2 separate regions of the Homo sapiens genome follow, and region 1 is linked to region 2. Evidence: promoter capture Hi-C in human tissues and cell types (Jung and others, 2019). All regions are on one chromosome and are shown on one strand. Each heading gives the region's core, a stretch centred on a gene start or on the middle of the fragment in contact. The rest is flanking DNA. Distances are from core to core; before and after follow the strand shown.

The links. The method cuts DNA at HindIII sites, captures the fragments that hold promoters and counts their contacts. A contact is called where the count stands out against the background at its distance.
Region 1: a fragment that was not itself captured here is called in contact with the fragment with the promoter of PSMG3 in region 2 in 2 of the 25 tissues and cell types used here (dorsolateral prefrontal cortex and lymphoblastoid cells).

Annotation. Positions count from the first base shown.
Region 1 is chr7:2,152,189-2,155,638 of GRCh38, reverse strand. All of the region lies in intron 10 of MAD1L1 (mitotic arrest deficient 1 like 1), which reads left to right. Among named protein-coding and RNA genes, the nearest start is that of SNORA114, 65 kb to the right of the region's middle. The HindIII fragment of the contact is 4,469 bases long and covers 1-3,450 here.
Region 2 is chr7:1,568,443-1,571,620 of GRCh38, reverse strand. It overlaps PSMG3 (proteasome assembly chaperone 3), which reads left to right and starts at 1,589. Exons shown (of 2, transcript NM_032302.4): 1 at 1,589-2,497. The coding sequence starts at 2,282. PSMG3-AS1 (PSMG3 antisense RNA 1) reads right to left here and starts at 1,548. Exons shown (of 5, transcript NR_027329.1): 1 at 1,342-1,548. RefSeq lists enhancers at 538-587, 598-667, 1,291-1,859 and silencers at 968-1,047, 1,488-1,917. The HindIII fragment of the contact is 18,965 bases long and covers 633-3,178 here.

The sequences.
Region 1 (3,450 bases), core at 809-3,308, 580 kb before region 2:
GAGTCTGCCACATGCTGTAACATGGATGAGCCTTGAGGACGTGATGCCAAGTAGAGTGAGCCCGTCACAGAGAAATGCTCTATGGCTCCACTCATGTGGCTGGAGTGGTCGCATTCTTAGAGACGGAAGGTAGTATGGAGGTGGCTGGGGCTGGGAGCAGAGGGGCTGTGGGAGTTCCTCTTTAATGCGACAGGGTTTCAGTTTTGCAAAATTAAGAGTTCTGGGGATAGGTGTGGTGCTGGTTGCCCAATAACATGAATATGCTCAACACGACAGAACTGGGGACTTAAAAATGGTTAAGATGGTATATTTTATGTTAAGTGTATTTTACCACAATTAAAAACATCCCAACACGGTGGCAGGATGCCACCGTGGCCAGGTGTGGTGCTTGTCTTGGGTTTCCTCAGGATGTCCTCTTGGAAGAGCGTGGCAGGTCAGCAGGTCAGGCCTGAGGACCCCCCTTTGCTCGCTCTCTTAGCCTCGTCCTTTTGGAGGGTCCAGTCTTCCTCAGGTAGCAAGCCTTCTTGCCAGGCCACAGAAGCCCCAAGCCGGAGGAGCGGCTCTCCGGCTCCCGTGCTGCTTCTCCGTGCAAGCCTCTCTGAGAGCTCACAGTCCACCCCTGTGGACTCCTCCGCGTGCCCAGAGCCTCCTGGGCTCCTCCTCCCCACCCCGCTTGGTTCAAGGGTATGTCCTTTACTCCAGATGGTGGCCTCCGTCCTTCTCCACAGGCTGCTGTTAATACGAGAAGAGGGCGCCGGAATGCTTCCTGTAGAGTTCAGGAGGTGACCTCCTGACCCGTTTGATCGGATTCCACCTTGTTCTTGATGGGACCTCCTTTGTGGCCTCAGAAATGTCCACATGTTGGCAAAACCATTTCATCTTTTCTTTTTCTGATATGGAGTGCTCTGAAACCATTGCCTTAAACCCATTCTGTTTCCACTAGCTAAAGCTCATACACTTCATCCCCAGAGAGCCCATTTTCTTTTATTTATTTATTTACCATTTATTTATTTTTATACATAATATTTTACATATTTATGGAGTACCTGTGATATTTTCTTACGTGCACAGAATGTGGAATGGGCAAGTTTAGGGTATTTGGGGTAACCATCACTTTGAGTATTTATCATTTCCACGTATTGGGAAAAATTCTGGTTCTCTTCTAGCTACTTTGAATTATACAATACACTGTTAACTCTAGTCACCCTCCTCTTCTGTGGAACAACTGAATTTATACCTTTCATCTAACTGTATGTTCGTACCCATTAACTCAACTCTCTTCATCTGTGGTTCCGCTCACCCAGACCTTTCAATCCACTAGTTCCTGTCATTCTACTCTCTGCCTTTAGGAGGTGAATTTCCACAGCTCCCATGAGTGAAGACGTGCAGTTTCTTTCTGTTCCTGGTGGTTTCACCTGACACGGTCACCTCCCATTCCAGCCACGTTGTTACAAATGACAGGCTCTCATTCTTTCTTTTTTTTTGAGATGGAGTCTTGCTCTGTTGCCAGGCTGGAGTGCAGTGGCGTCATCTTGGCTCACTACAACCTCTGACTCCCTGGTTCAAGTGATTCTCCTGCCTCAGCCTCCTGAGTAGCTGGGATTACAGGCGTGTGCCACCACGCCTGGCTAATTTTTGTATTTTTAGTAGAGATGGAGTTTCACCATGTTGGCCGGGCTGGTCTCGAACTCCTGACCTCCTGATCCACCTGCCTCGGCCTCCCAAAGCGGTGGGATTACAGGCGTGAGCCACCGCGCTCGGCCCAGCTCTTGTTCTTTCTTACGGCCGGATAGCATTCCACTGTGTGTACATCCCCATTTTCTTTATCCATTCGTCTGTCGATAGACACAGGTTAATTCCGTATCTTTGCCATCTTTGCTGTGATAAACATGGGAATGCAGGTATCTTTTTGATACAGTGATTTCCTTTGAGTAAATACCCAGTGGTGGGATTGCTGGATCATGTGGTGGTGTTCTGTTTTCAGCTTTTTGAGAAATCTCCATACTGGGTTCCATAGCGGTGGTACTAATTTACATTCCTTCCAACAGCAGCTGAGAGTTCCCTTTCCTCTGCATCCTCACCAGCATCTGTCTGTGTGTTTTTTGGTCTGTTTATTAGCCATTTTAAGCTGAGGTAAGGTGGTATCTCATTGTGGTTTTGATTTGCAATTCCCCCGATGATTAGTGATGTTGACCATTTTTTCATATACCTGTTGGCCATTTGCATGTCATCCTTTGAGAAATGTCTCTTTGTGTCCTTTGCCTACTTTTTCGTGGGATTATTTATGTTTTTTTAATTGTTGTTATTTGAGTTTCTTTTGAGTTGTATTTTGGATGTTAGTCCCTTATTGGCCGAAGAGTTGACAGATATTTTCCTGCATTCAAGAGGCTGTCTCTTCACTCTGTTGATTGTTTTCTTGGATGGGCAGAAGCTTTTTACTTTGATGTAGTCCCATTTGTCTATTTTTGTTTTTGTTGCCTGTGCTTTTGAGGTCTTAGCTATAAAATCTTTGCCTAGACCAATGTCCTGAAGTGTTTTCCTTGTTTTCTTTAGTATTTTTTATATTTTTGGGTCTTAGGTTTCAGCCTGTAATCCATCTCCAGTTGATTTTTGTATATGGGGAACACATTTTCTTTTGATTGACACTGCCGAACAAAGGGTATACAAAATTTCACAACTTTTAACATGCTGGTTGATGATTGTACTTGAAGTGTTTTCTCCTCATGTCCCCGGCGACATCCAGACACCGCCTCCACGGTGCATGTCCTCTCCCGGCCTCCCAATGCCAGTGTGAAAATGGGCTTGGATTGCACACCCTGAAAACAGCCTCCAGCCTCCCTGTCCCTTCCACATCCATAAAGTTAACGGCATAGGGATTGTCAGGTAATAGCAGTGCACTGTACCTGTGCCGTAGGGTTTTGGAAGTGAGCCTTAGGAAGCCCAGCCGAGCAGGTAGGGAGTTGAGCCTGGAGGGGTCAGGGCTGGGGCTGAGACCCAGGTTTTCTCCCATGGGTCCATCTCCTTTTCCTTTAAGGATGTCCTGGCCTTCCCTCTGTCTCTGCAAGTAGAGTAGACTGGTCCCGTGTGACGTTCTTGAAGGCTGTCATCGAGCTCACTGTGCTTGTGCTTTTGAGTGGAAGCTGAACCCTGGTCATGAGCAAGAATGGCCAGACAGGGCTCGTGAGGCTTGGTTTAGCCAAAGTGGTGACTGCGGGTTTTTCAGCGCAAGAGGCTGCGAAGGGAGGGATTCCTTCTGGTGCCCCTGTGCCCTCCAGCGGCTTCTGCCCGTGGGAGGTGTTGGGCACGGCTGCCCCTGTGGTTGGAGGGCTCTGGAATAGCAAGCCCTGCAGCTTCAGTCCTCCCTATGATGGGGGCCTGGTCGCATGGGGACTGAGAGCCGGCAGGGATCTGGGGGCCTAGGGATGTGGCCAGCAAGTATCCAGGCTGAGA
Region 2 (3,178 bases), core at 340-2,839:
CAACAGAGACTCTGTCTCAAAAAAAAAAAAATGCACAAAGCAAAAAAAGAATGAAGCAACAAAAGCAGAAATTTTTTGAAAATGAAAGTACATTCCATGGTGTGGGGGCGGCCAAAGCATAGAGGCTCAGGGCCCCATTACAGAACTTGTGAGGTTTAAATACCCTCTAGGGGTTTCTACTGGTTACTTGGTGTACGCCCTATGTAAATAAAGAGGATGAAATAAAGTTACAAAATCATTTACTCAGTGTACACCCTATGGAGAGGGTATTTCCTGTCATAGCTGAAGTGTTCCCTGCCTCCAGACCCTGTTTTCCTGCCTCAATTCCTTTACTTTTCTAATAAACTTGCTTTCACTTTGTGGACTCGCCCTCAATTCTCTCTTGGGGTCTGGATCGGGACCCCTTTCTGGTAATATAGACAGAAAATACGGCCTTGACATGGTTGTCAGGAAACGACAGTAAGGCCTCCGAGGGTGGGGTTCTGAAGGGATGTTAAACGCCCCACCCCGAGGAAGGCTCTGGAGGCTCCAATCACTTTCAGCCTCTGCTACCAAGATGTCCGACCCTACCAATAAAACTTCCAGCAGCGGGGCGCGGTGGCTCACGCCTGTAATCCCAGCACTTTGGGAGGCCGAGGAAGGCAGATCACCTGAGGTCAGGAGTTCAAGACCAGCCTGACCGACATGGTGAAACCCCATCTCTACTAAAAATTTAAAAAGTTAGCCGGGCCTGGTGGCGCACGCCTGTAATCCCAGCTACACAGGAGGCTGAGGCAGGAGAATTGCTTGAACCAGGGAGGCGGAGGCTGCAGTGAGCCGAGATCGCGCCACTGCACTCCAGCCTGGGTGACACAGCAAGACTCCGTCTCAAACAAAACAAAACAAAAAACCTTCCAGCTTGGAGAAACTGAGAGTGAGCAGTAGGGAGTGAGGGGGTCCCTGGGAGGAACCAGAACTCATCCCGCTTCAGGGTGGGGCTGGCCCCCTTCTTGGCCTTGGCCGGGGCTTCGTGTCACGGAGCGCCCGAGGGACGGTCGGAGCCCACCCCAGCCCGCCCGCCGCCTGAGCCTGGCCGAGCTCTCTGCACCTGCACACGTCTGTAAAACGCGGATGAAACGCTTCTACGGAACCGGGTGGCTGAGATGAAGTGAGTTATGGGTATAAAGCGCTTAGAGCGATGCCTGGCGGACACTCGGTGCCAAATAAGCGTTCGCTGTGGCGACGATGACGCCTCCAGCCCAAAGCCCGTGGTCGAGCAGGGCCGGGCTCCCAGCGCTAGGGGGTTCCTAGGCGCGGCGCTTCGGGGGTCCTGGACACAGACACGGGGGACAGAGCTCCTACCAGCGACGATCCCGAGGGTCTGCAGCAGAGGGGCTGAGGCCCGGGACGGGGGTGGTCGCAGCGCCCTTTCCTGAAAAAACGGGGTTCGGCTCTAAGGCGCCCCCAAGCCCTGCCGGCAGCGCGGAACCCGAGCCGCTCAGAAGCCCGGGAGCCCCAAGTCTCCGGGACCAGAAGCGCCGCGGCCCTGACTTCCGGAAGGTGGACGGAACCCGCGGACGGGGCGGGCCCGCGTGGCGCACGCAGAGCCACTTCCGGGCGCGGCGCCGGCTTGGTGAGCGCGGGTACCCGCGGGCTTCCCCGGGCGGCTGCGTCCCCAGTAGCCCGGCCGGCCTCGGCACCGCGTGTCGTGGGGGTCCCGGGCCGCGGCTGCAGGGCCGGGGCGGCGGCGAGGCCGAGGGGCGGGAAGCCACTGCCCGGCCTGGCAGTGTGAACGTGCAAGTCGATCCCCTAACCCAGAAAGCCCCAGGCGCGGTCTCTATGGGCGGCCCCGCTCCTGCTTCTGTTTTATTTTTTTACGGACAGGGTCTCGCTCTACCGCCCGGGTTGTAATGCAATGGTGTGATCACGGCTCACCGCAGCCTCGACCTCCCGGGCTGAAGCGATCTTCCCGCCTCAGCCTCCTGAGTAACTGGGACCACAGGCGCGCCCTGCTGGTTTTTTTTTTTTTTTTTTTTGGTAGAGATGGGGGTCTCGCTATGTTGGCCAGGCTGGTCTCGAATTCCTGGCCTCAACGATCGTCCTGTCTCGGCCTCCCAAAGTGCCGGGATGACAGGCATGAGCCACCGCGCCTGGCCCCTTCTTTTGAATGGGCCTCCTTGCGTTTCCGTTTCAATGCCCCGTGCTACTTTTTTGGGAGCCCCAAGGCTGTACTGTTTGATTGACTCCTTTTTTTCCCCTTTCTTTTTAACCTAAATTAAAGCTGCCACTGCAGAGCCCCGCCATGGAAGACACGCCGTTGGTGATATCGAAGCAGAAGACGGAGGTGGTGTGCGGGGTCCCCACCCAGGTGGTGTGTACGGCCTTCAGCAGTCACATCCTGGTGGTGGTGACCCAGTTTGGGAAGATGGGCACCCTGGTCTCCCTGGAGCCCAGCAGCGTGGCCAGTGACGTCAGCAAGCCTGTGCTCACCACAAAAGTCCTTCTGGGGCAGGATGAGGTAAAGTGGATTGGCCGGGAACTGTGGCTCACGCCTGTAACCCTAGCACTTTCAGAGGCCTAGGCGGGCAGATCGCTTGAGGCCAGGAGTTTGAAACCAGCCTGGGCAACACAACAACACACACACAAGTCACTACAAAAAAACAAGTGCCTACACAAAATATATATATAGAGAGAGGCTGGGTGCAGTGGCTCACACCTGTAATCCCAGCACTTTGGGAGGCTGAGGCGGGCAGATCACTTAAGGTCAGAAGTTCCAGACCAGCCTGGCCAACATGGGGAAACCCCATTTCTACGAAAAATATAAAAATTAGCTGGGTGTGGTGGCACATGCCTGTAATCTCAGCTACTCAGGAGGCTGAGGCAGAAGAATCGCTTGAACCCGAGAGGCGGAGGTTGCAGTGAGCTAAGATCGTGCCACAGCACTCCAGCCTGGGTAACAGATAGAGACTTGGTCTTAAAAAAAAAAGGAAAAGAAAAGGAAACAAAAAATTAGCTGGGCCTAGTGGTGTGTGCCTGTGCTCCCAGCTACTTGGGAGGCTGAGGTGGGAGGATGGCTTGAGCCCTGGAGGTTGAGGCTGCAGTGAGCCATGATTGTGCCACTGCGCTCCAGCCTGGGTGAGAGAGCAAGACTCTGTCTTTAATAATAATAATAATAATAATAATAATAAAGTGGTCAGGA